7 separate regions of the Homo sapiens genome follow, and all the other regions are linked to region 6. The links are contacts of gene promoters, found by promoter capture Hi-C in blood cells and fetal thymus (Javierre and others, 2016). All regions are on one chromosome and are shown on one strand. Each heading gives the region's core, a stretch centred on a gene start or on the middle of the fragment in contact. The rest is flanking DNA. Distances are from core to core; before and after follow the strand shown.

Region 1 (3,435 bases), core at 779-3,278, 400 kb before region 6:
GCATCGACCTCCTGGGCTCAAGCAATCCCTCTGCCCCAGCCTCCTGAGCAGCTGGGACTACAAGCACATACCACCATTCCAGCTAATTTACTATAATTATTATTTGTCGAGATAGGGTCTCACTATGTTGCCCAGGCTGGTCTTGAACTCCTGGGCTCAAGTGATTCTCCTGCCTCGGCCTCCCAAAGTGCTGGGATTACAGGCATGAGCCACCATATCTGGCCCCAAAGAAAACCTGTTTCAATTAGAGCAAGGTTGTTTAACTTGTGTGATTTGTATTTTACCTCCCCAAACCTGACTTCTAAGTTACTTGAAGATGGGACCTGAGCTTTCCACAATGGGGAAACCCTCCATGTGCCAGGTGTGGGGGTACAGCCGTGAGCAAGGCAGACCCTGCGCCCCCACATCTTGTAACCAAAGCGGGAGGCCGAAGTCACTAAGCAGGTCACTCAAACAAAGAGTCTGGGACGAGGGTGTTTCTGGGGAGAGCAGTGTCAGGGCAGGGTCTGGAGGTGCAGCAGTGCAGGCAACATGGTCCTGGCCACAGCACAGGGGTGTGACAGGTCCCTGCTGCCAAGCGAGTGAGAAGTTGCTCTGAGAAGTCAACCATGAGCTCCTCTAACTAGAGGAGACACCATCGTGTCCATCCAGAGCCTTTCTCCCTCTAGACACCATCGCATCCATCCGGAGCCTCCCTCTCTCTAGACACCATCGTGTCCATCCAGATCCTCCCTCCCTCTAGACACCATCGCATCCATCCAGAGCCTCCCTCCCTCTAGACACCATCACGTCCATCCAGATCCTCCCTCCCTCTAGACACCATCGTGTCCATCCAGAGCCTCCCTCCCTCTAGACACCATCACATCCATCCAGAGCCTCCCTCCCTCTAGACACCATCACGTCCATCCAGATCCTCCCTCCCTCTAGACACCATCGTGTCCATCCAGAGCCTCCCTCCCTCTAGACACCATTGCTTCCATCCAGAGCCTCCCTCCCTCTAGACACCATCGCATCCATCCAGAGCCTCCCTCCCTCTAGACACCATGGCATCCATCTGGAGCCTCCCTCCCTCTGGGGATGGTTTTCGACTCTCCTCTTTCATCTCCCCGACATGGGAAGGTACGGTGGGGAGAAATGATCTTAGAAATTCTGTGTTGGCCTGAAATGCACGAGGAGGAAGCTGCAGAGGTGATGAGGCCCTGTGGTTGGCGGGAACCTGCGCAGAACCAGAGCTCACCCGCGGGCGGGGAGGGGACCTGCCGGGGATTCGGAGTGGAAAGTCACTTTCCCTCTGGGCTCAGTTGGCTTGTGTATCTTTTATAAGCTCTTAAGGAAATAAGCATATCAAAAGCAGAGCTTGAAGATATTAAAAATTAAAAACCCTGCTTAAATTACAATTCGATTTTGGTAGTGAACTCAGTCTGGCCAGATTGCTGAAGGGACACTGGGTGACACAGATGGCCCTGCTTCAGGGGCACAGGCTCGCCTTGTTCCGGCTTTTCTGCAGATCCATACTGATTTAGAAATGATGCTTTCAAATTACCTTCAATAACCTTATTACCAAGCCAGCTGTGTGTACGAACACTTATCAATGCGTCCCTGTGCATTAAGACAAAATGTATGTCATACAAACAGTCTAAATATATATTACTAAGACGGGAAAAAACAAAGCCTCTAGTTAAATTGCTTTGCTGTAATCAAAGATTAATCACTGCAAATGTGTGTGTGTGTGTGTGTGTGAGATAATGTGTGTGTGAGAGAATGTGTGTGTGAGGGAGAGAGAATGTGTGTGTGTGTGTGGTGGGAGAGTGTGTGTGGGGGTGTGTGTGGGAGAGTGTGTGTGTGGGAGAGTGTGTGTGGAAGAGTGTGTGTGTGCAGAAGTGTGTGTGGGACTCTGTGTGCATGTGTGTGTGGAGAGTGCGTGTGGGAGTGTGTGTGGGGGAGTGTGTGTGTGTGAGTGTGTGTGGGAGAGTGTGTGTGTGTGCGTGTGTGGGGGTGTGTGTGTGGGGAGTGTGTGTGTGTGTGTGGGAGTGTGTGTGTGGGAGAGTGTGTGTGTGGGAGTGTGTGTGCGTGTGTGGGTGTGTGTGTGTGGGGGGGAGAGTGTGTGTGTGCGCGCACACACGCACGCCCTCTTTTTCTCAAGGGTTCAATTCTGGCTTTGGACAAACCTACCCATCCCTTACCAAGTCATGCTCTCTGGCCGGTGTGCCCACTGCCATTCTAATAGTGAAATTAATTTTTCCAGATTTCTGAGACTTGGAAGAGCTAAAAAGAGGTCAAGGAGGTCTTTTTTTGTTTGTTAAATTTTGAGATGGGGTGTTGCTCTGCTGCCCAGGCTGGAGTGCAGTGGCGTGATCTCAGCTCACTGCAACCTCCACCTCCTAGGGTCCAATGATCCTTCCGCCTCAGCCTCCAAAGTAGCTGGGACTATAGACTATAGATTATAGATGCACACCACTACGCCTGGCTAATTTTTGTATTTTTTGTAGAGATGGGGTTTCCCCATGTTGTCCAGGCTGGTCTCAAACTCCCGGCCTCAAGTGATCCTCCCGCTGCGGCCTCCCAAAGTGCTGGGATTATAGGCGTGAGCCACTGTGCCCAGGCAGGAGGTCTTAAATGTTGTTTTCTTTCCGAGTCTTCCAGGCCTGCAGCCCAGAAATGCTCCTTTCCTGCAGGCACATGGTGGACAGCAGGCTTGGGGGTGCCCATCTGTGTGGAGGATGCTGCGTCTGCCCCGAGAGCAGCCTGTCCTCCTCCCTCCATGATGCTGCCTGTTGGCCCAGTGTGCGGGTAATGTCTGGGCTGCAATGGGATATTCCTCAGAGAATCCATGGCTGATCATGGCCCGTGGAACACGCCGGTGTGGTGGGGTGCCTCCTGTCTTCCACTCAATGCCCAGGTGAGTGAACTCACTTGGCCCTACAAAGACCCGGGCAGAACCAAGTTGAGATTTTCGTCTTCCACGATGGTATTAGAAAAACCATTAAGGTACATTATTTTACACGTCCTCCTAATCTCTCCATACTGCTTTACTTAATTTGTGATGAAATTGTTGAGAAAGGGTACTTAATGTAGGACAGTCAGTAAAAGTAATTTATCATCTTCCCGCTTCGGTGCTCACGTTATCAGCGAACTCATTTCTGCATTCATCATGCAATCAGCCTATTATTTGCATATTAATCAGGCAGTGGACCGTGAAAGAGCGGCATCCCAGCCAAATGCTGCACTATCTCAGGAGAAACACTCAGTAATTATCATACATCAGTGTTATGATGTGATAATTGATTATAACATCTTTCTGCTGCCCCTGGGGAGTCCCTGCACTAACCCAGCTCCAGGCACTCTGGACAGATTTTTCTTTGCTTGCAAAAAAAAAAAAAAAAAAAAAAAAAAAAAGTTGGAGTAACCATTGCCATGCTCTTAGAATGCTATTTC
Region 2 (2,951 bases), core at 449-2,948, 420 kb before region 6:
TGGCTGGGTGCGGTGGCTCATGCCTGTAATCCCAGCACTTTGGGAGGCCGAGGCAGGCGGATCACTTGAGGTCAGGAGTTCGAGACCAGCCTGGCCAATATGATGAAACCCGTCTCTACTAAAAATACAAAAATTAGCCAGGCGTGGTGGTGCACACCTGTAGTCTCAGCCACTCAGGAGGCTGAGGCAGGAGAGTCGCTTGAACCTGGGAGAAGGAGGCTGCAGTGAGCCGAGATCGTGCCACTGCACTCCAACCTGGGCGACAGAGCAAGGCTCCGTCTCAAACAACAACAACAACAAAAAAGGAATGACAAGAATAAGGTATCTCATATACATTTGTGAGCTGTGAGGATTAAGTGATATAACTCGGTGAAATACTTAGCTCAGAATCTGAGATCTAGAAGATGCTCAATCTGTCTTCATTAACTCATGAACTTTCCCAAATGCAAAGGTCTTAAATGACTTCATTTATTTAATTACAGAACTAATCAAACTAATTTGGAAGATAACATGGCAGAAGACCCCGAGAAAGCACTGCAAAATCACTAAGAAATAAAAGTTCAGGCCAGGTGTGGTGGCTCATGTCTATAATCACAAGGCTTTGGGAGGTTGAGGTGGTAGGACTGCTTGAGGCCAGGAGTTTGAGACCAGCTTGGGCAACAGAGCGAGACCCCTGTCTCTATAAAAAATCAGCAGGCATGGTGGTGCATTGGCATCCTAGCTACTCAGGAGGCTGAGGTGGGAGGACTGCCTGAGCCCAGGAGTTCCAGCCTGCAGTAAGCTATGATTGCACCACTGCACTTTAGCCTGGGTGACAGAGCAAGCCCTTGTCTCTAAAAATAAATAAATATGAATATAACTATAAATATAGATATATATAAACTAAACCACAAAAGTTTCACTCCTTTTGAACCATGAATGCCTACACTCTCCCTTATTAAATGATGTAATCGAGAGGTGATTTTCTTTCTGGGTCATGGCAGATACCACCTGTTTCTAACTATGTGACAGTGACGGGAAGGGACGTGGCCTTACATCTCTGCAGTTAAAACCTCCAATAACACCTAAGGAACTGCCAGGCGTGGTGGCTCACGCCTGTAATCCCAGCACTTTGCGGGGCCGAGGTGGGCAGATCACCTGAGGTCAGGATGTTTGAGACAAGCCTGACCAACATAGTGAAACCCCGTCTCTACTAAAAATACAAAAATTAGCCGGGCTTGGTGGTGCATGCCTGTAATCCCAGCTACTTGGGAGGCTGACGCAGGAGAACTGCTTAAACCCAGGAGGCGGAGGTTGCAGTGAGCCGAGATTGCGCCAATGCACTCTAGCCTGGGCAACAAGATTGAAACTCCATCTCAAAAGAAAAGAAAAGAAAAGAAAAAAAAAACCCTAAGGGACCAAGGAACGGACCAATCACCGAGCTCCCAGCGCCCCACCTCCGGCCCCAGCCTCACCCCTGTGCGCCATGGCGGCCTCCGGACAGATCAGCCCCTTCCCCTGGGCCGACCGGCGCTCCCTGTGAGCCAGCCGTCGTACCTGTAGTTGTGGAACCAGTTGATGACGGTGCTGGTTTTCAGGTTGAGCTGGGTGGCGAGGTCTTCGATGGTTTTTGGTGACGGGTATGGCTTTTGCTGATACGCTCGTTTCAGCGCCTCCTTCTCCTCCGGAGCCAGCACCACCCGGGGTTTCTTCAGCTGGTGCTGGGGCTGGGGGCTGGCGCCCTGGCTGTACTCGGTGCCGACAGAGGGCGGTTCGCAGGGCTGGCTGTCACTGACTGAGCTGTGCCGCCGCTTCATGTAGGCTGCGGAGGAAGAGATGGCAGACTAAGGTCAGGCCCAGCTGGGACAGCAGCCCAAATCCCCAGTCCCGCTAGCGGGACGGCACAGTGCCGGCTTGCAGGACTTTGCATAGAGCATCTCAAAACACTAAGATGAGGCTGGGCATGGTGGCTCATGCCTGTAATCCAAGCACTTTGGGAGGCCGAGGCAGGCAGATCACTTGATGTCAGGAGTTCAAGACCAGCCTGGCCAATATGGTGAAACCCCGTCTCTACTAAAAGTACAAAAATCAGCTGGGCGTGGTGGTACGCACCTGTAATCCCAGCTACTAGGGAGGCTGAGGCAGAATTGCATGAACCTGGGAGGTGGAGGTTGCAGTGAGATGAGATGGTGCCACTGCACTCCAGCCTGAGTAACAGAGCAAGATTCCGTCTCAAACAAAACAAAACAAAACAAAACAAAAGAAACAACGCTAAGATGAGAGCCATTCTGTTACCAGCACATGCTCACCAAGGACCTGCTCTGACGGAATGTCAGGTCCTCACCTGTCCCTGCACAACTTAACAGTTTAGTAGGGGAGGCAGAGAAGTATCCAGAGAGATGTTCCCAGCAGAGTGAAAAGTGGGGTGGGGGTAAGTAAGTGCAAGAGACCATGGGGATACTGAGAAGAGTTCCTCGGCCAGGCCTGGGTGTGGGCGGCAAGCCACCCAGGTACCGAGGCAAGAGACCGAGGACACAAGCTGTTCTAGTATAATAAAATATAAAACAAGAATAGTTACACCAGATATAGATCTTAGATATGATTATATATGAATATCATTAATCATTAGTTTGTAGCAATTACTCTTTATTCCAATATTATAATAATCCTTGCTCTATAACCATAACCTAGGAAAAACCAGGCCATACAGAGATAGGAGATGAGGGGACACAGTGAGGAGTGACCAGAAGACAAGAGTGCGAGCCTTCTGTTATGCCCAGACAGGGCCACCAGAGGACTCCTTGGTCTAGAGGTAACGCCAGCGTCTGGGAAGACGCCCGTTGCCAGGCGGACCGTGGTCTAGCGGTAGCCTCAGTGTCAAGGAAAAACACAGGCTACTTAGCAGACCGGGAAAGGGAGTATCCCGGGAAAGGGAGTATCCCTTTCCCCGGGGGAGTTTAGAGAAGACTCTG
Region 3 (3,077 bases), core at 253-2,752, 370 kb before region 6:
GTTCAGAGTATAATTTTAAAGTTTAATACAGACATAACATTGTTGCAAGTGGAATGTATTTGTAAAGCTTAAAGGGAAGGAAAAAGTTGTAAGGAGAAGCCAGAGAGAGGGGAACCCACCAGGGCGGCCACTGCCCACACCTCACTCCTAACTGGCACCTACCTGGGGACCAGGGGACATAGGCAAAGAGCAACCTCCTAGACTTGGATGACTCAGAAGCCAGGTGGGCAGACCTTCTCTGCAGCCCCAGGTTGGGGAAGGAGTGCAATGACAAAGATGTGGCAAGAGAAGGTGACTTCTCCCTCCCTTGTTCTCAATGGCACTGAAAAGGGCCGCACCCTGATCACTACGGTCTCTGGGCTGTCTCAGTGAGTCCAGGTCCCCAGGATTATTACTGTTTCTTGAGTTCCTTTTGCTGTGGATGTCCCTTTTTTGCTGAGTTTACCAGGGAGAAGAGGGGAAGTGAGGCTATGTGGCTTTGAAGGAGCTGCAAGTGTTTCTTTGAAATACCAAGGATGGAAGAGAGAGACCCAGAGCAGGCTGGCTGGACCGTGAGATTTACGACTCGCAGGTGCAGAGTCAACCGGACCTTCGCCATGTTCCTGCAGCCACAATTTCGGCCTCTGTCCCCCTAGTGTGAGCCACCACACCTGGATAATTTATTTTTAGTAGAGACGGTTTTGGCCAAGCTGGTTTCCTGACCTCAGGTGATCTGTCGGCCTCCCAAAGTGCTGGGATTACAGATGTGAGCCACTGCGCCCAGCTGAAAGGGGTTTCTTAAGATGGAATCCTGTCCTTCGTTTCCTATTTTCTTTAGGATTATGTAATAAAAGACCACGTGGCTCTTTATCTATTCTACAGATCTTTACCAGCAGCCTGCTATCCGCTTGTTGCCGTGGGGAATCAGAACCACTCCTGGTCCGTACTCCAGGAAATTTACAGGCCATTACAGGTAATAGGCAAGACTCCAAGTGGTCCATTAAGACAGAACTTGTGAGGACCCCAGCAGGAGGGATCTTGATGGATTGGAGACCACGTCTCAGTGTCATGATGAACAAGCATTGGAGAAGGGCCCTGAAGGGACAGGGTGTCTTGTGCTGCAGTGCATGAGGATCTGAGGTCAGCATCCCCTGTTGCGTGGGGGTGAGGAAGTGGAAATGGGACGATGCTGAGAAGGGGACGCGGGCAAGAGCTCAAGAGCACAGCTGGTTCACCAGGAAGTGGAAAACTAGGAGCGCATTTGGGCAAAGAAGCCACCTGAGTGGGGCTTCCAGATGTGCACATGGTGGTGGGGCCTGTCATGTGCGGACGCAACAGAAAGAGTTAGCAGAAATGCAGTGACAAGCGGGGCTGGTGTGGCAGCCCTTCAGTGGGGGTAGGGGCAGCCTGTGGTCCGGCAGGCTGTGGATGAGAGGGAGTAGAACGGTATGTGTTGCAGGCTGGAGCCTGGAAGCCTCAGCTCCCAGGGGATGAAGTGAACGTGGGGGTTGGGGGAGAAGAGGAGGAGGAGGAGGAGCAAGAGGAAGAAGAAGAGGAAGAGGAAGAAAGAAGAAGAGGAGGAGGAAGAAAGAAGAAGAGAGGAAGAAAGAAGAAGACAACGAAGACGACAATGAAGACGACGACTAACTCCCAGGGTGAGGCTGGGCAAAGGCCTTCGCAGCAGTTTCTCTGGCTCAAAATTAAAAGGCCCAATTTCTTTTTCTTTTTGGAAGAGGGAAGAAGAGGGAAAGGAAGGAAAGAATGGGATAGGAGAGGCAGGTAGAGAAGGTTAACCAGGTAATGTTTAATAATAAGTTACATGTAATCCCGGCACTTTGGGAGGCTGAGGTGGGTGGATCACCTGAGGTCGGGAGATTGAGACCAGCCTGACCAACATGGAGAAACCCCATCTCTACCAAAAATACAAAATTAGCCCGGGGTGGTGGCTCATGCCCGTAATCCCAGCTACTTGTGAGGCTGAGGCAGGAGAATCGCTTGAACTCGGGAGGCGGAGGTTGCGGTGAGCCGAGATAGCACCATTGCACTCCAGCCTGGGCAACAAGAGCTAAACTCTGTCAAATAAATAAATAAGTAAGCAAGCAAGTAAGTAAGTTACAGAGGCTGGAACTGTTAGAGGGATGTAGGGGTCTGTCCGAGGAGGTGCCGGCAGAGGCTTTGCAGCTGGAGAGGGGATGAGACCGCTCAGGGGGAGAGCATGGTGGGGACAGGGACTACCAGGGCCAGCAGACGCCAGGGAGGCTGGGGGTCCCAGGCGAGAGAAGGCAGCTGGTCATGGAAGTGAGATGGTTCAAGAGGATGCCCGAGGAGCTTTTCTTAGCAGAATGGAATTAACAACACAAAGAAAACGTGGTGAGTGGGTGTAGGCTCATCTTAAAAGGAGAAATGGAAAATAGCAGCAAGAGAGAAAGGGGCTGATGGGACAGCAGGAGGGGCAGGAAGGAAGGGACTCAAGGTCTAGGCAGAGGGGGCAGCCTGCAGAGATGGGAGGTGGCACCCAAGACCAGAGGCGGGAGTCTGTCCCTAGCAGAGGGCTAGGGCATCTGTGGATAGTGGTTGGGGTAACAGTGACAAGGGCAGGGAGGAACCCCTGAGGAAGCCTCGAACCAGCAGAGCTCCAGCCGCGAGAAGCACGGGGGACCTGTGGGGCTGGTCACCATGCCCTAGGCAACCTTCGTTTGCAGTGCTTAATAACCTAGGAGTGAGGCGGGCATGCCAGTGGGAAGGCTTGGAATGGCTGACGATCCAGGGGAGCTGTATGAACGTAGAGGGTCTGACCACAGGCTCCAGGCTTGCAGGGGAGGTCAGTGAGCCTGGAGCATTATGGATGTGGGGGGACAGGTAAAGACCAGGACCTGGGAGCTCCAGAGTGCCAAAGCAGGCTCAGGGTGAGGAGGCAGAGGTGGGGGCTGCTGGCCGAGAAAGGAACTTTGAAGCTTGAGAACTGAGAATGCCATCATTAGCCCTGAAAAGATGATAAGCTTTCGGCTACAGCCTCACAGATGGAGAATAGAGTTTGGAAGACAGAGTTCCTGAGTCCAGGAGGCCGGGGCAGCGTGAGGCCATATGCCCACCTTCAA
Region 4 (2,981 bases), core at 39-2,538, 340 kb before region 6:
AGACTGGGGTCCACCGAGTGGCTTTGGCACCTTGAGAAGTGCATTCGCTTTGCCAAACTTCTTAGGTAGCTGGGGACTGCCTCTGAGACCACAGAGAACCTGTTCTGGATAGAGCACTGATATTCACAGGATAAGGCTCTCCCGTTTAACAAACCAGGCTCTCCTGTTGGGCACATTAGATTGCCCTAAAGTGCCATCTAAAGGCAAGGCATGCCCAAGACTGGCCTTGAGGAGAGAGGTGGAGTCGGTGGAAACTTGAGAAATAGGAATAGTGATCTATGATGAAGGTAACTCCTTCCAGTAACTGCTTTTTTTTTTTTTTAGACAGATTCTCGCTCTGTCATCCAAGCTGGAGTATGGTGGCATGATTGGTTCACTGCAACCTCTGCCTTCTGGGTTCAAGTGATTCTCCTGCCTCAGCCTCCTGAACAGCTGGGATGACAGGTGCATGTCACCGCACCCGGCTAATTTTTGTATTTTTAGCAGAGATGGGGCTTCACCATGTTGGCCAGGCTGGCCTCAAACTCCTGACCTCAAGTCATCCACCCATCTCGGCCTCCCCAGGTGCTGGGATTACAGGCGTGAGCCACTACACCCAGCCCAAGGCTGGGTAGTAAAAATTTATTTTTAAATTTTATTTTGTATTTTTTTGAGATGGAGTTTCTGCTCTGTTGCCCAGGCTTAGATCTTGGCTCACTGCAACTGCTGCCTCCAGGGTTCAAGTGATTCTCCTGCCTCAGCCTCCTGAGTAGCTGAGATTATAGGCGCCTGCCACCACGCCTTGCTAAATTTTGTATTTTTAGTAGAGACGGGGATTCACCATATTGGCCAGGCTGGTCTCAAACTCCTGACCTCAAGTGATCCTCCCACCTTGGCCCCCCAGACTGCTGGGATTACAGGCGTGAGCCACTGTGCCCGGCTGGGGGACCACTTTCTTTTCAGAGCAACAGCAGCACCAGCTAAAGCAAAATGTTTTCCTGTTCTGTGGGCTCCTGGGGGGAGGAAGGGGTTTTGGGGATGGCTGAATTTTCCAGGAAGCAGAGTATTTAGAATCACCCAAAAGTACGCTAATGGTTAAGATGCGTCCTGTGCCTGATCTGGGCCGGACACTGTGCTGGGTACTTGCCATAAGGCCTCTCTGAGCACCAAGTGTCAGCCAAAAAGGGGCCGTCAGCTGAGAGCCCTCTTTGGAGCAAGTGGCTGCGACCCATGAGAACGTGGCGGTAAGGAACTCTCCTAGGATAACACCGTGGTGAGATGTCTACACTAAGGAACTCTCCTAGGATAACACCGTGGTGAGATGTCTACACTAAGGAACTCTCCGAGGATAACACCGTGGTGAGATGTCTACACTAAGGAACTCTCCTAGGATAACACCGTGGTGAGATGTCTACACTAAGGAACTCTCCTAGGATAACACCGTGGTGAGATGTCTACACTAAGGAACTCTCCTAGGATAACACCGTGGTGAGATGTCTACACTAAGGAACTCTCCTAGGATAACACCGTGGTGAGATGTCTACACTAAGGAACTCTCCGAGGATAATTCCATGGTGAGATGTCTACACTGTCATGGATGCCACAGCTACAAAGACGGGTGTTTAGAGATGGAGTAGGGAAAAGGAGACAGTTACCACTTTGGAGGGGATGTTCACCATGGGATGTCTGAGATGTTGGAACCACATCAAAGACTTTGCCAAGGAAATGGTTCCTAGGACTTTTTATGTCTTTTCCTACTTCTCATGACAACAGAAGGAGCATCGACGTTGAAAGCTGTCAGTAAAAAATGGAAGGATAACCGGCCTTCTAACTTCGGGTGACGCATCTTCCGAGATGCCAGAAACGGGCCCGCTATTGTGGGTTTTAGGACTAAAAGCGTCCAGGGTCCTACCTGGTTTGCCCTTTCAAGGTCCGTCATGATCATTTCAATCTCGTCGGCCCTAGGAGGGTGAGAGGGAGAGAGCAGGTTAGTCACAAGGAGACCGGCTCAGGGGGTGACTGATGGGACAGCTTCCTAGCTCAGGGCTCGGGAAGGGCTGTGCAGACCCGTGAGTCAATGCTGTCCAGCAGGAGGAGGTGGGCTCACACTGGGGGAAGAGATGTGCTTGCTGATGCCATGCGCTCTTTTGATAATCATGTGTCTGGTGCGTATGGGGTGCCTGCCTTTGATGGGGTCCCAATCTCATTGGGGAGACATAACCATAAAAATATAAAATACAGCATGTCCTGCCAAGGGTTCAAAAAGAGCTCTGAGCAGAGTGCTCTGAAAAAAAGAGGGAGAAATAAATTCTCTTTGTGGGAGGGAATCAAGGAAGGCTGCAGAGGAGGTGACAGGTAAGTGGGGTTTTGAAGGATGAGTAGAAGTTTGCCAGGCTGGGGGTGAGAGGAGGAGCTGGGGAAAGGCTACTTTAGGAAAAGGCACTTGGCAGTGAAAGCCTCACCAGGAATGAGGAAACCAGGAGAAGGTGGCCAACTGGAGGTGAGGAGGGCAGGTGAGGATGGTGACACAGGTTGGGGGACTGTACAGGCTGCAGTGCAGACAGCCTGGGTTCATTGCTATGGCCCAGCCTGGTCGTAAAAGCAATTGTCCAGGTTCTGTCTTTCCCTTTTTCTGTTTTGAAAGTACTTCCTTGAGTAATCTGAAGGCAAATACGCGAACCCAACACAGAGCATCATGAGAGAGGAATGCGGAGAGTGCTTTTATGTTTGTATGTTTGTTTGTTTTGAGACAGAGCTCTGTCGCCCAGGCTGGAGTGCAATGATGAGATCTCGGCTCACTGCAACCTCCGCCTCCTGGGTTCAAGCAATTCTCCTGCCTCAGCCTCCCGAGTAGCTGAGACTACAGGCGTGCACCACCACGCCCGGCTAATTTTTGTATTTTTAGTACAGACAAGGTTTTGCCATGTTGGCCAGGCTGGTCTCAAACTCCTGACCTCAGGTAATCCACCCACCTTGGCCTCCCAAAGTGCTGGAATTACAGG
Region 5 (3,080 bases), core at 7-2,506, 440 kb before region 6:
CTTGGGGCCACAGCAAGCAATCTCCACACCCAACCTTCCTCCACGTTGAACCACCTATAGGGGAAAGGGGCCCTCTGCCTATGATCTCCTAGGTGAGCCCTCAAGCCACAGCCTGGTACTACAAAACACTGTTGCTTTGAAAGATGGTTTTGACCAACTTTGTACGCAAGAAAAACAACAACAAAAAACCAACCAAAACGTATCAACCCATGCGGGCCTTGCAAGAAATCACTCTCTCGCTTGGAGGTAAAGTCTTGGCCAGGCCACCGCGCCCTCTCTGACCACGGCTCGCCGAAACTTCATGAACCCAGAAGTCTTACCAGAGGCTCTAGGAGGCTTTGGGGAACTGAACTTGGCTTTGCTAAGATTCCTCTGAAGCTCCTCAAGCGAGCATTCTTCAACTCAGCAACTCCCTCACACGTTGGTAAATTTTTTTGTTCATAAACACTCTCATTTAAAAAGTTAGACACATAGAGACCACCAGTTTTTGAGTGGCTACTCTGGAGACAGGTGTTTGATTTTGCTGGGGAAACCCCCTCTGCCCCCCAGTCAATCCCCCAGACGCCTTGGTTCTCTGGGGGAGTAGGGGAGGAGAGGAAGGCAGAGGATAGTAACCACTAGAGTGACAGCAAAAAGCATTTATGACAACAAAACACAAAATAACAATACACTCCTGATAAGTACTTAAATGATTAACCTAATAATAAATAGAAGAGGATAGAAATAATTTTTTTTTTCTCAAGGAAACATCCTTTTATAATCACCCTCACGCACGCCGGCAGGTCAGTAGCAGTCAGTCCATTTCAACAAGACAAGATTAAGTGCTGGAAGGGATGGCTGTGGCCTCAGACACTGGGGAAGGGTCTCAGCTTCTGAATCACGGATACTCCCTATCCTGCCTCGTCAGGCCAGCGGCTCCGGCCAGAGCCCGCGGGCCCTGCACGCCCAGCACAGTGGTCACCAAGAGGCAGGCTGGGAGACTGGAGGGAGTCGGGGAGGCCTGTTTTCCCTTCGGTTCATGAACAAACGGAACTACAGTGAACAAACTCATTCATAACCTGAATCGTCCTGGTCTAAAGCTTACTTTGAGTTCATTTGGTGTGCAATACGTTATTTTTTTAAAATGAAGAAAAATGATTTCAATTGCACAGAGCTTTTACACATAGTCATCTATTTAAGTGCTTTCCGTTTAAAGCAAAGTACAAAAAAAATAATAAAATAATAAAAAAGAAGAAGGAAAAGGGGGGAAAAAAGAATTATAAAACAAAAGCAGCTCCGTGCCACTTCAATGTGTCTTGCTGAATGGTCTCTTGTTTCACCAGCAGAAGTCCCAATGCTTCCGTACACACTGTGCTTCTGATTAATTTCCATAGGGATGTAGCCGTGACATTGGGATATAAGGCACCTTTTCTTTCTGATTACAGAAAGCTTGATACATAGCATATAGCATATTTTGTGGTAGAAATTAAAGCGTAAACACTACAGAAATTACAGTAACGTAGACTAATGCTTTCTTAACATTATCGGGTAAACTAAAAGGATTCATGAAAAGCAACTCAAAGGCATCTTAAGAGTTTAAGAACGGGGGCATGGGGGAAGTGCACATTTATGCATAGCCAAATGTCTTTCTCTCGCCAGCCTTTTTTTTTTGTCTTTTTTTTTTTTTGGGATTTTTCGCCTACAATGCCCAACTTTTAAAGTTAGCATTTTGGAGGAGACTAGGCGCTTTGGAAATGTCTTGTTAAAGCTAAATGTCACTTCATCCAAAAATGAAAACTCGAGATGATGCCACGGATGGCATGGACACGGTTATCTTTGGAGGGAAGGTGGTGGTGGGAGAGGCCTGGGCAGGAGGAGGCAGTTTTTGGAAGTCGGGCAGACAGGCGGAAATTGCATTTCCTTCTATTCCCCTGACCAGGGTGGTGAGGAGCACAGGCCGCCGGGGCCTCTGGGATTGGGAAGACTGGGCTGGGGGGCCGGGAGTAGGGCTGGGGCTTGTTTTACGCTCTGCCCCCCACACCCCCTCCTCTTCCGTCCTGATTAAGCCCAAGGGTTGGTGGACTTAACTTTCAGCCCATCTCTAAGGGTTTCACAGACTGGATCTTTCTAAACTTTATTGGGTACCTGCTTCCCCTTTTCCCTGGTAGTTTTCATCTACAAAAAGTCAAAACCTGATCGAAATAGAAATAAGATCATCAAATTGGACCATTCTCTTAGCGTTCGAGTGTGCCGGCCAGACTGGCATTCAGTACACGCTGAGATCCAACCACATCACACTGGCCTCAGGTCACCACCTCGCCACTCAGGGCACAAGCCCTGCCCTTGTGGTCACAAAGGCTTCCCTAATGTCGTCGATGCCCAGGTGAAACCACAGAAGCACTGAGGGCTTTCTAAATGTGAGCTTTGGCTGGTCAATGCCCAAGCACAGGATGCTGTCCCCATCCTTAGGTTCTTACTTGCAAACTGTCTCCAGCAGGGGAACACTTTGGCCCCCACAGTGGACAGACCCACCTCCAACCACCAGCCCCAGGAGCTGATTTTCTTCGGTGCTGGATGGGAACTGGCATATTCTTTTGGGATAAGAGGGTGATGCCACTGTGGACGGGGCGTGTAGGCTGGAGGAAGCCATCTATCCTTTTCCGTCTTTGAGATGTTTGATGTTTGCAAAGGAGTGTTCGCAGTGACGCTAAAACCATGCCAGAGACAAGAGACACCCAAGAGCTACAGTGTTCCCCAAAGCCAGCTGGGAACTTTGGGGCAGTCCGGGACAAGGATAATGGCCATGATGGATCTTAACAGCTGAGCAGGACTGGACAGAAAGGAAGGCGGACCAAAGACAAGACCCTCGGAGCCCCGAGACCACGCCCTGCCTGCAAAAGAAACAGCTGCTGGAGCTTTGGGAACAGGTGGAAGGGAAACATCCGTGTGCCTTGCAGAGCACAGCTGTTTGTCCGTGTTGCGCTCACAAAAGGAGAGACACACAAAGCCGGCCCACCAGGCAGAGGGATGTTCGTGTCTGCTGCGCTGGCAGCTTTTCTGCTCTCTCCAGCCCACGTGCCTCACAGTTCTGTGGGGTGTGG
Region 6 (3,303 bases), core at 158-2,657:
GACAAGAACCCAGTGAGCCAGGGTTGCAGAACTGCGGAACGGCCCAACCTCACCTGGACCCGCTGACGTCTCCAACCTGGATTTCTCTCTGCAAAGACCGATCAGCCTCTTTACCCCCAGGTGGCAACCCAATCTCAGTATAAAGAGGTCTGGAAAAATGAGAAAAATCTGGAACTAATGAATTCTCTCCCAAACTCGTTCTATTGACTCACTGACTATCGGTGGGAATTAACCAGACACCAACTCCAAAGGCCTCCTCACCGCCCAGAGAAAGAACCAGATTGGCCTGAGACTTGAACTTTGACATTCCGTATTCGACTAAAGTTTGCAAACCCATAGGAAATCATCTAAGGCCAAATCGTTAGCAACCACCAAAAGCAAAGGAGTAAAGAGGAATGAAGTTCAAATAAGGGACTTTGTTTTGGGGTTTGGTTTTGATTTCTTCTTAATATCCACATAAAGTGCAAGTAAACTGACATGGAAACTTTCGATGGAACCCTGGAGCCCTGATCCCCTGAAGAAGTAGCTAATATGGGGGACAGGAAGGTTTAGAGTTCTTAAAATCTAGTAACTCTAGAAACCAAATCCATTTTCCAGGCAATTTTGCCAGGATGCTTTAAAAAAGACACTTCATTGATATTAAGCTAGGATGTCACATTTAGGAAGACAAGAGAGAAAAATAATAATAATGTTTGTCCTTAAAACTCCACAACGGGTTTTACAGTAAGCACAGGAATTAAATTATGGTAAAAGGGAGCTATTTTTACTAAAACAGGGTAGACCAATTTATCAAAAATGCCATTCGGCTGTGTTCATTACATCCAGGAATCTAATTTACACAATAGACACTTTGGAGTAATCTATTTTAGTCAATAAATACTTAAACTCCTTTAAGTTTTAATCTTATCGGAAATACATATTTCGCATAGTCTTCTTCCTAGTTAAGCGAGAAATTTCAGGAAATTTCATAACGACTATGACTCGGCTTTATCGTTCTTAGTAGGCAAGAGCAGAAAACAAGCATATACAATTAAAGTTGTCAGATTCCATTTAAATATGTTTTAATCCAACCCGCTTCGTTTGATACAAGCCTGCATCTCGAGCTTTGCTCCCAAAGGTATTGCGGTAGGTCACTGTCACCAGTCCTCCAGGTTAGGAAAGTTCAGCCAAGTTTATCTTCACGCACACCTTAGCAGTTGGGAGTAGCTGCAGTTCCCCAGGGGCCCTGAGGAACCCTCCTATCCCCTCCCAGAGCACCAGGCCGCCCTAGAGCATTCTAAGCCGCGGGACCCGGGCACCCCCCGACATCCCCGGTTCCCTCCGCGCCTGCAACCTCGGGACTTCTGGCCCACACGCCGCTCACCTTCAACCTGGCTCCGGCTACGCACAACATCCACCTGGCAGAGTCCCGGGGCTGTCCCGGCGCCGCGGGCGCCGAGCTGGCACGTGCGGGGCGGACCCTAAGGGTGCGCCGCTCCTCCGGGCGGGGGGTGGCAGGCAGGCACTCGCCCCTTGGGCACGGCGGCGACTCGGGCGCGGGCCGGGGAGCCCCGGCACGGTCCCCCCGCGGCGCCGGGGACTCCGCGCGCGGACCACCGCCCGGCATGCCACGGTCCCAACGGGCCCCCGGGGCTCTGCTTTCGAGAACCCGGCCCGAGAAGGCATCTCCGAGCGCACCCGCCGCGCGCTCCATGGCGGGCCCTGCAGAGAGGGCAGAAGCCCCGAGGGGACGCAAGGAAGGGACCCGGCGCCGCAGGTCACCGGGGGCCGCCGGAGCCCCCAGGCGCGCGGCGATCGCGGCTCGGACCGGCGGCGGGGAGGCAGCGTACACTGCCCGGGCACCCGGGGGAACAGCTTGGGGCCTGCCTAGGGGAAAGTTGCAGCCTCCTCCTCCCGCGCCCGCACCCGGCGGTCCGGGACACCGGGACCCAGCGACACTGCGCGCGGGGCACCCCCGCCGCCCCTCGCCAAGTTTCCCCAAAGAGCCCCCGCGGGGGTCCGCCACGGAGGAACAGGTCCGCGTCACCGACACAGGCACACAAAAGAGCGCGGCGGCCGCGAGGTGCGCGGGTGGCCCCGGGGCGCTCCCCGGGACGTAAACAAACCCGGGGGTCCGCGCCGGGAGCCACACGCGGGGTGCCGGAGCGGCGGCGCGGCCCGGGCCGGTGACAGCCGGGGGCGGCGGCCGGGGCCGGCCGGGGGTAGCGAGCGCGGGCGCCTGCCCGGCCACCCGCCCGCCTGGCCGGAGCCGGGCCGCGCCGCCGCCGCCGCCGCCGGTGGCCGCTCTGACCCTCCCCCGAGCCGGCGGCACCACAGCGCCACCAGCCCCAGCTCCGCCGCGCCGGCGGCAGTGGCGGCGGCTCCTCCTGGAGAGGCAGGCGCTTCACCCCCCGCAGCAACTCCCCACAAACTTTCCCCGGGAATACGGCGGGCCGGGGGCGCGGGGCGAGCGGGCGGGCGGGCGCCACCGCCGGGCCGCGGCCCCCTCCCGGCGCCCGCCGCCGCCCGCCCCCCGCCGCCCGCTCCCCGCTCCCCGCTCGCGCGCGCACCCCGCGGGCCGCCGGGGCCGCCCCCTCCCCGGTCCCGCGGCGGCAACGGCGGCGGCGGCGCTGGCGGCGGCGGCGGCGCGGGGCCCGGGGGGGCGCCCGGGGTGGGGGCAGACACCGGGGGCAGTGGTGGCGGCGGCGGCTCCCGGCGCCATCTTGGGCTGATCGATGAATTGAACAAAGAGGATCAATTTCCGATCAAGCGAGTGATCAATGGGGGCCGGGGAGCGGGAGGGACTCGGCCCCGACTCGGCCCCGCGGTGCCCGGCACCCCCCTCCTCCCCGCCGCCGCGGGCCCCCCGGCGGCTGGGCCAGCCCGGGGCCCCCGGCGGAGGCCGCGACCGCCCGCAGCCCCCACCCCCGGGCGCGAGGCCGAGCGCGGAGGAGCCTGACCTGCAGCTGCTGTAAATCAAAGCGCTTCCAATATTGAAACATCGATCCCACATTGGCCGCCATCTTGAGACATATTGAGACGGAGTGAGCGGCTGATAGAGAGGGGGCTGGAGTTCAGGAGCCGCCAGGAGGCAGCAGGCGGGCGGCGCCAAAACCCGGCCTGGAGCCGGCCGCCGCCGCCGCCACCGAGGACGCGGACTCCTCCTCACGGCACCGCCGCAGCCATGGCGAGCCCGAGCCGGAGCCGGAGTCGCAGCCCCAGGGCGCGGCGGCCGCGGCCCGGCCTCGCGCGCGCGGCCCCGGCCCCTGCTCCCCCAACCCCCCCACCGCCGCCCTCCCCCTCCCCTCCGCGGGCCGACCGGCG
Region 7 (3,080 bases), core at 40-2,539, 270 kb before region 6:
GAAGAAGCAGACTAGAACATCTATTATCAGCATGTCCAAGGATTTAAAGAAAAATATGAATACAATACAGAGAGGAACAGAAAACATAAAGAATCAAATCGAATTCTGAAGCTTAAAGTATGTGAAATGGAAAAAATTCACTTGATTGGCTGAACAATAGATTAGACACAGTGAAAGAAAAAGATCAGTGAATTTAAAGATATAGTCACAGAAACAAACCAAACAGAAATACACAGAAAGATTGAAAAAAAAAGTTAGTAAACCCTCGGCAACCTATGAAACAAAATTAAGCAACCAAACATACATTTCCCAGAAAGAGGGAAAGGGTGTATTTGAAGAAACAGTGGCAAAATGTTCCAAACTTCATAAAAGCTATAAACCTAAAAATTCAAGAAACTCTACAAACTCCATGCAGGATAAACCCAAAGAACACCAGTAAGCGTAAGAGAGTTTCTGAAATCAAAATTAGAAAAGGAAAATCTTAAATGGTGAAGAGAAAAAGATTAATTGTATATAGGTTAAAAAAATATATATGAATTACTGGAGATCGCCTGTCTCAGAAACAGTCAGTCCAGAGAGAGAAAAAACCAGAACCCAAACCACCAACAAACTATTTCATTTTATTTATTTTATTTCTCTTTTGAGATAGAGTCTTGCTCTGTCACCCAGGCTGGAGTGCAGCGGCACGATCTCAGCTCACTGCAACCTCTGCTTACTGGATTCAAGAGAATCTCCTGCCTCAGCCTCCCGAGTAGCTGGGATTACAGGTGTGCACCATCACACCCAGCTAATTCTTGTTTTTCTAGTAGAGACAGGGCTTTAACCATATTGGCCAGGCTGGTCTCCAGCTCCAGACCTCAAGCGATCTGCCCGCCTCAGCCTCCCAAAGTGTTGGGATTACAGGCATAAGCCACCATGACTGGCAGACCCAAGAAACTATTTTATATCTGACAAAAAATACTCTTTAAAAATGAAGGTGGCTGGACGCGGTGGCTCACGCTTGTAATCCCAGCACTTTGGGAAGCCAAGGCAGGCAGATCACCTGAGGTCAGGAGTTTGAAACCAGCCTGGCCAACATGGAGAAACCCCGTCTCTACTAAAAATACAAAAATTAGCCAGGCATGGTGGCACACACCTGTAATCCCAGTTACTGGGGAGGCTGAGTCAGCAGAATCACTTGAACCTGGGAGATGGAGGTTGCAGTGAGCCAAGATTGCACCACTGCACTCCAGCCTGGGTGACAGAGCAAGACTCTGTCTTAAAAAAAAAAAAAAGGGTGAGATTAAGGTATTTTTTCCCCAGATGAATGAAAGCTAACAGAATTCATTGCCAGTGTGCCTATATCATAATAAATGTTAAAAGGAGATCTATAGACCAAAAGAAAATGATTTCACGTGCATACTTGAATCCACGCAAGGGAATAAACAACACTGGAAATGGTAAATAGATGAGTAAAAATAAAATATTATAATTTCATTTTTAATTTCTTTAAAAGTTAATGGTTTAAAGAAAAAATAGTAACCATGTATTATAGCGTTGTAGTATAGGTAGAAGTAAAATCAGTAAAAATGCACAAAAGAACAAGAGTGAGAAAGTGACAATGTATTATAAGATTCTTATATTGTATGTGAAATGGTGTATTATTTGAAGGTATAAAATGATAAGTTAAAGATGGTTACTTTTCACTTTTTTTTTGAGATGGAGTTTTGCTCTTGTTGCCCAGGCTGGAATGCAACGGCACGAACTCAGCTCGCCGCAACCTTTGTCTCCCGGGTTCGAGAGATTTTCCTGCCTCAGCCTCCTGAGTAGCTAGGATTACAGGCATGTGCCACCACGCCCAGCTAATTTTGTATTTTTAGTAGAGATAGGGTTTCTCCATGTTGGTCAGGCTGGTCTAAAACTGCTGACCTCAGGTGATCTGCCTGCCTTGGCCTCCCAAAGTGCTGGGATTACAGGTGTGAGCCATCATGGCTGGCTTACTTTTCACTTTAAAGTAACCCTTAAGAAAATAAGAGTTATAGCTAATAAGATAATTGGGGAGATAAAAACATTAAAAAAATCAGTTAATCAAAAGCAGGAAAAATACAAGAAAAAACAGGCAAGACAAATAGAAAAAGTAAGATGGTAGACTTCAATCCAACTTTATCCATAATTGCATTAAATGTAAATGATCTAACATTCCAGTTAAGAGGCAGATAGGATGGATAAAAAAGCAAGATGTAGGTATTTACATAACTTAAACATAAAGATACAGACAGGTTAATAGTAAAAGTATAGAAAAATATATAACATAAAAACTCTCATCAAAAGAAAGCCAGAGTGCTTATATTAAAATCAGAAAAAGAATACTTTACGATATGGAATATTTCCAGGAATAATGAAGGTCATTGTATAAACTTAAAAGAATCAAACAATTGAGAGACGATATAATAATCTTAAAGGTATATTTGCCCCAAAACAAAGCTTTAAACTATGCAAATCAAAAACTGACAGAACTGAAAGAAAAAAGAAAAATCCAAAATAATAATTAGATTTCAAAACGCCATCCACATTCAGGAGAATTGCATAAACCCGGGAGGCAGAGGTTGCAGTGAGCCAAAGTCGTGTCACTGCACTCAACTCTGGGCGACAGAGCGAGACTCTGTCTCAAAAAAAAAAACAACGAAAAAAGCCATTCACATTAATTAATATTATGATTTTTATATAGTCAATATGGATATAAGAGACTTGAAGAACACCACTAACTAAACAGAGCTCACTTTTCTAGAACATGCCATTCAAACAACTACAGAATACACATTCTCTTTAAGTACACATGGAACATTCATCGATGTACAGGATGAGAAAACAACTTTTGATAAATTCAAAAGAACAGAAATCATACAAACATGTACTCTGACCACAATGAAATAAAACAATGCCCACTTAGTAAAACTCATAAAGAAGAGCAAATTAAACCCAAAGTAAGTAGAAAGTAGCTAATAAGAACAGAAAGCAACAAAACTGAAAACAAGGAAAAAAAAAAAAAAGAGAAAAATCAATGCAAACAAAAGCTGGTTCTATTTTTAAATAACTTTAAA

The links. Contacts are between HindIII fragments. The CHiCAGO score rates a contact against its expected background, and 5 or more counts as called.
Region 1: a contact is called between a fragment that was not itself captured here and the fragment with the promoter of CUX1 in region 6, in 5 of 17 cell types (endothelial precursors, M2 macrophages, M0 macrophages and 2 more). The highest score is 7.9, in endothelial precursors.
Region 2: a contact is called between a fragment that was not itself captured here and the fragment with the promoter of CUX1 in region 6, in 11 of 17 cell types (endothelial precursors, megakaryocytes, M2 macrophages and 8 more). The highest score is 22.1, in endothelial precursors.
Region 3: a contact is called between a fragment that was not itself captured here and the fragment with the promoter of CUX1 in region 6, in 6 of 17 cell types (M2 macrophages, M1 macrophages, endothelial precursors and 3 more). The highest score is 12.3, in M2 macrophages.
Region 4: a contact is called between a fragment that was not itself captured here and the fragment with the promoter of CUX1 in region 6, in 4 of 17 cell types (naive B cells, M2 macrophages, M1 macrophages and 1 more). The highest score is 7.2, in naive B cells.
Region 5: a fragment that was not itself captured here is called in contact with the fragment with the promoter of CUX1 in region 6 in 14 of 17 cell types (M1 macrophages, endothelial precursors, M2 macrophages and 11 more); the score reaches 16.8 in M1 macrophages.
Region 7: a fragment that was not itself captured here is called in contact with the fragment with the promoter of CUX1 in region 6 in 10 of 17 cell types (M2 macrophages, endothelial precursors, erythroblasts and 7 more); the score reaches 12.1 in M2 macrophages.

Annotation. Positions count from the first base shown.
Region 1 is chr7:102,215,191-102,218,625 of GRCh38, reverse strand. All of the region lies in intron 20 of CUX1 (cut like homeobox 1), which reads right to left. Among named protein-coding and RNA genes, the nearest start is that of SH2B2, 70 kb to the left of the region's middle. The HindIII fragment of the contact is 5,756 bases long and covers 1-3,435 here.
Region 2 is chr7:102,238,170-102,241,120 of GRCh38, reverse strand. It overlaps CUX1 (cut like homeobox 1), which reads right to left. Exons shown (of 24, transcript NM_181552.4): 23 at 1,537-1,801. It overlaps LOC124901711 (a long non-coding RNA gene), which reads left to right. Exons shown (of 3, transcript XR_007060458.1): 3 at 483-569. Among named protein-coding and RNA genes, the nearest start is that of SH2B2, 47 kb to the left of the region's middle. RefSeq lists a silencer at 991-1,060. The HindIII fragment of the contact is 5,463 bases long and covers 1-2,951 here.
Region 3 is chr7:102,190,232-102,193,308 of GRCh38, reverse strand. All of the region lies in intron 12 of CUX1 (cut like homeobox 1), which reads right to left. Among named protein-coding and RNA genes, the nearest start is that of SH2B2, 95 kb to the left of the region's middle. The HindIII fragment of the contact is 2,866 bases long and covers 70-2,935 here.
Region 4 is chr7:102,157,519-102,160,499 of GRCh38, reverse strand. It overlaps CUX1 (cut like homeobox 1), which reads right to left. Exons shown (of 24, transcript NM_181552.4): 9 at 1,892-1,940. Among named protein-coding and RNA genes, the nearest start is that of SH2B2, 130 kb to the left of the region's middle. The HindIII fragment of the contact is 7,216 bases long and covers 1-2,981 here.
Region 5 is chr7:102,253,972-102,257,051 of GRCh38, reverse strand. It overlaps CUX1 (cut like homeobox 1), which reads right to left. Exons shown (of 24, transcript NM_181552.4): 24 at 1-3,080. Among named protein-coding and RNA genes, the nearest start is that of SH2B2, 31 kb to the left of the region's middle. The HindIII fragment of the contact is 349 bases long and covers 1,082-1,430 here.
Region 6 is chr7:101,815,730-101,819,032 of GRCh38, reverse strand. It overlaps CUX1 (cut like homeobox 1), which reads right to left and starts at 1,407. Exons shown (of 24, transcript NM_181552.4): 1 at 1,364-1,407. The coding sequence starts at 1,393. RefSeq lists silencers at 1,458-1,507, 1,558-1,627, 1,658-1,737, 1,808-2,127, 2,238-2,397 and 2 more and an enhancer at 2,223-3,151. The HindIII fragment of the contact is 10,531 bases long and covers 1-3,303 here.
Region 7 is chr7:102,086,196-102,089,275 of GRCh38, reverse strand. All of the region lies in intron 4 of CUX1 (cut like homeobox 1), which reads right to left. Among named protein-coding and RNA genes, the nearest start is that of SH2B2, 200 kb to the left of the region's middle. The HindIII fragment of the contact is 2,352 bases long and covers 114-2,465 here.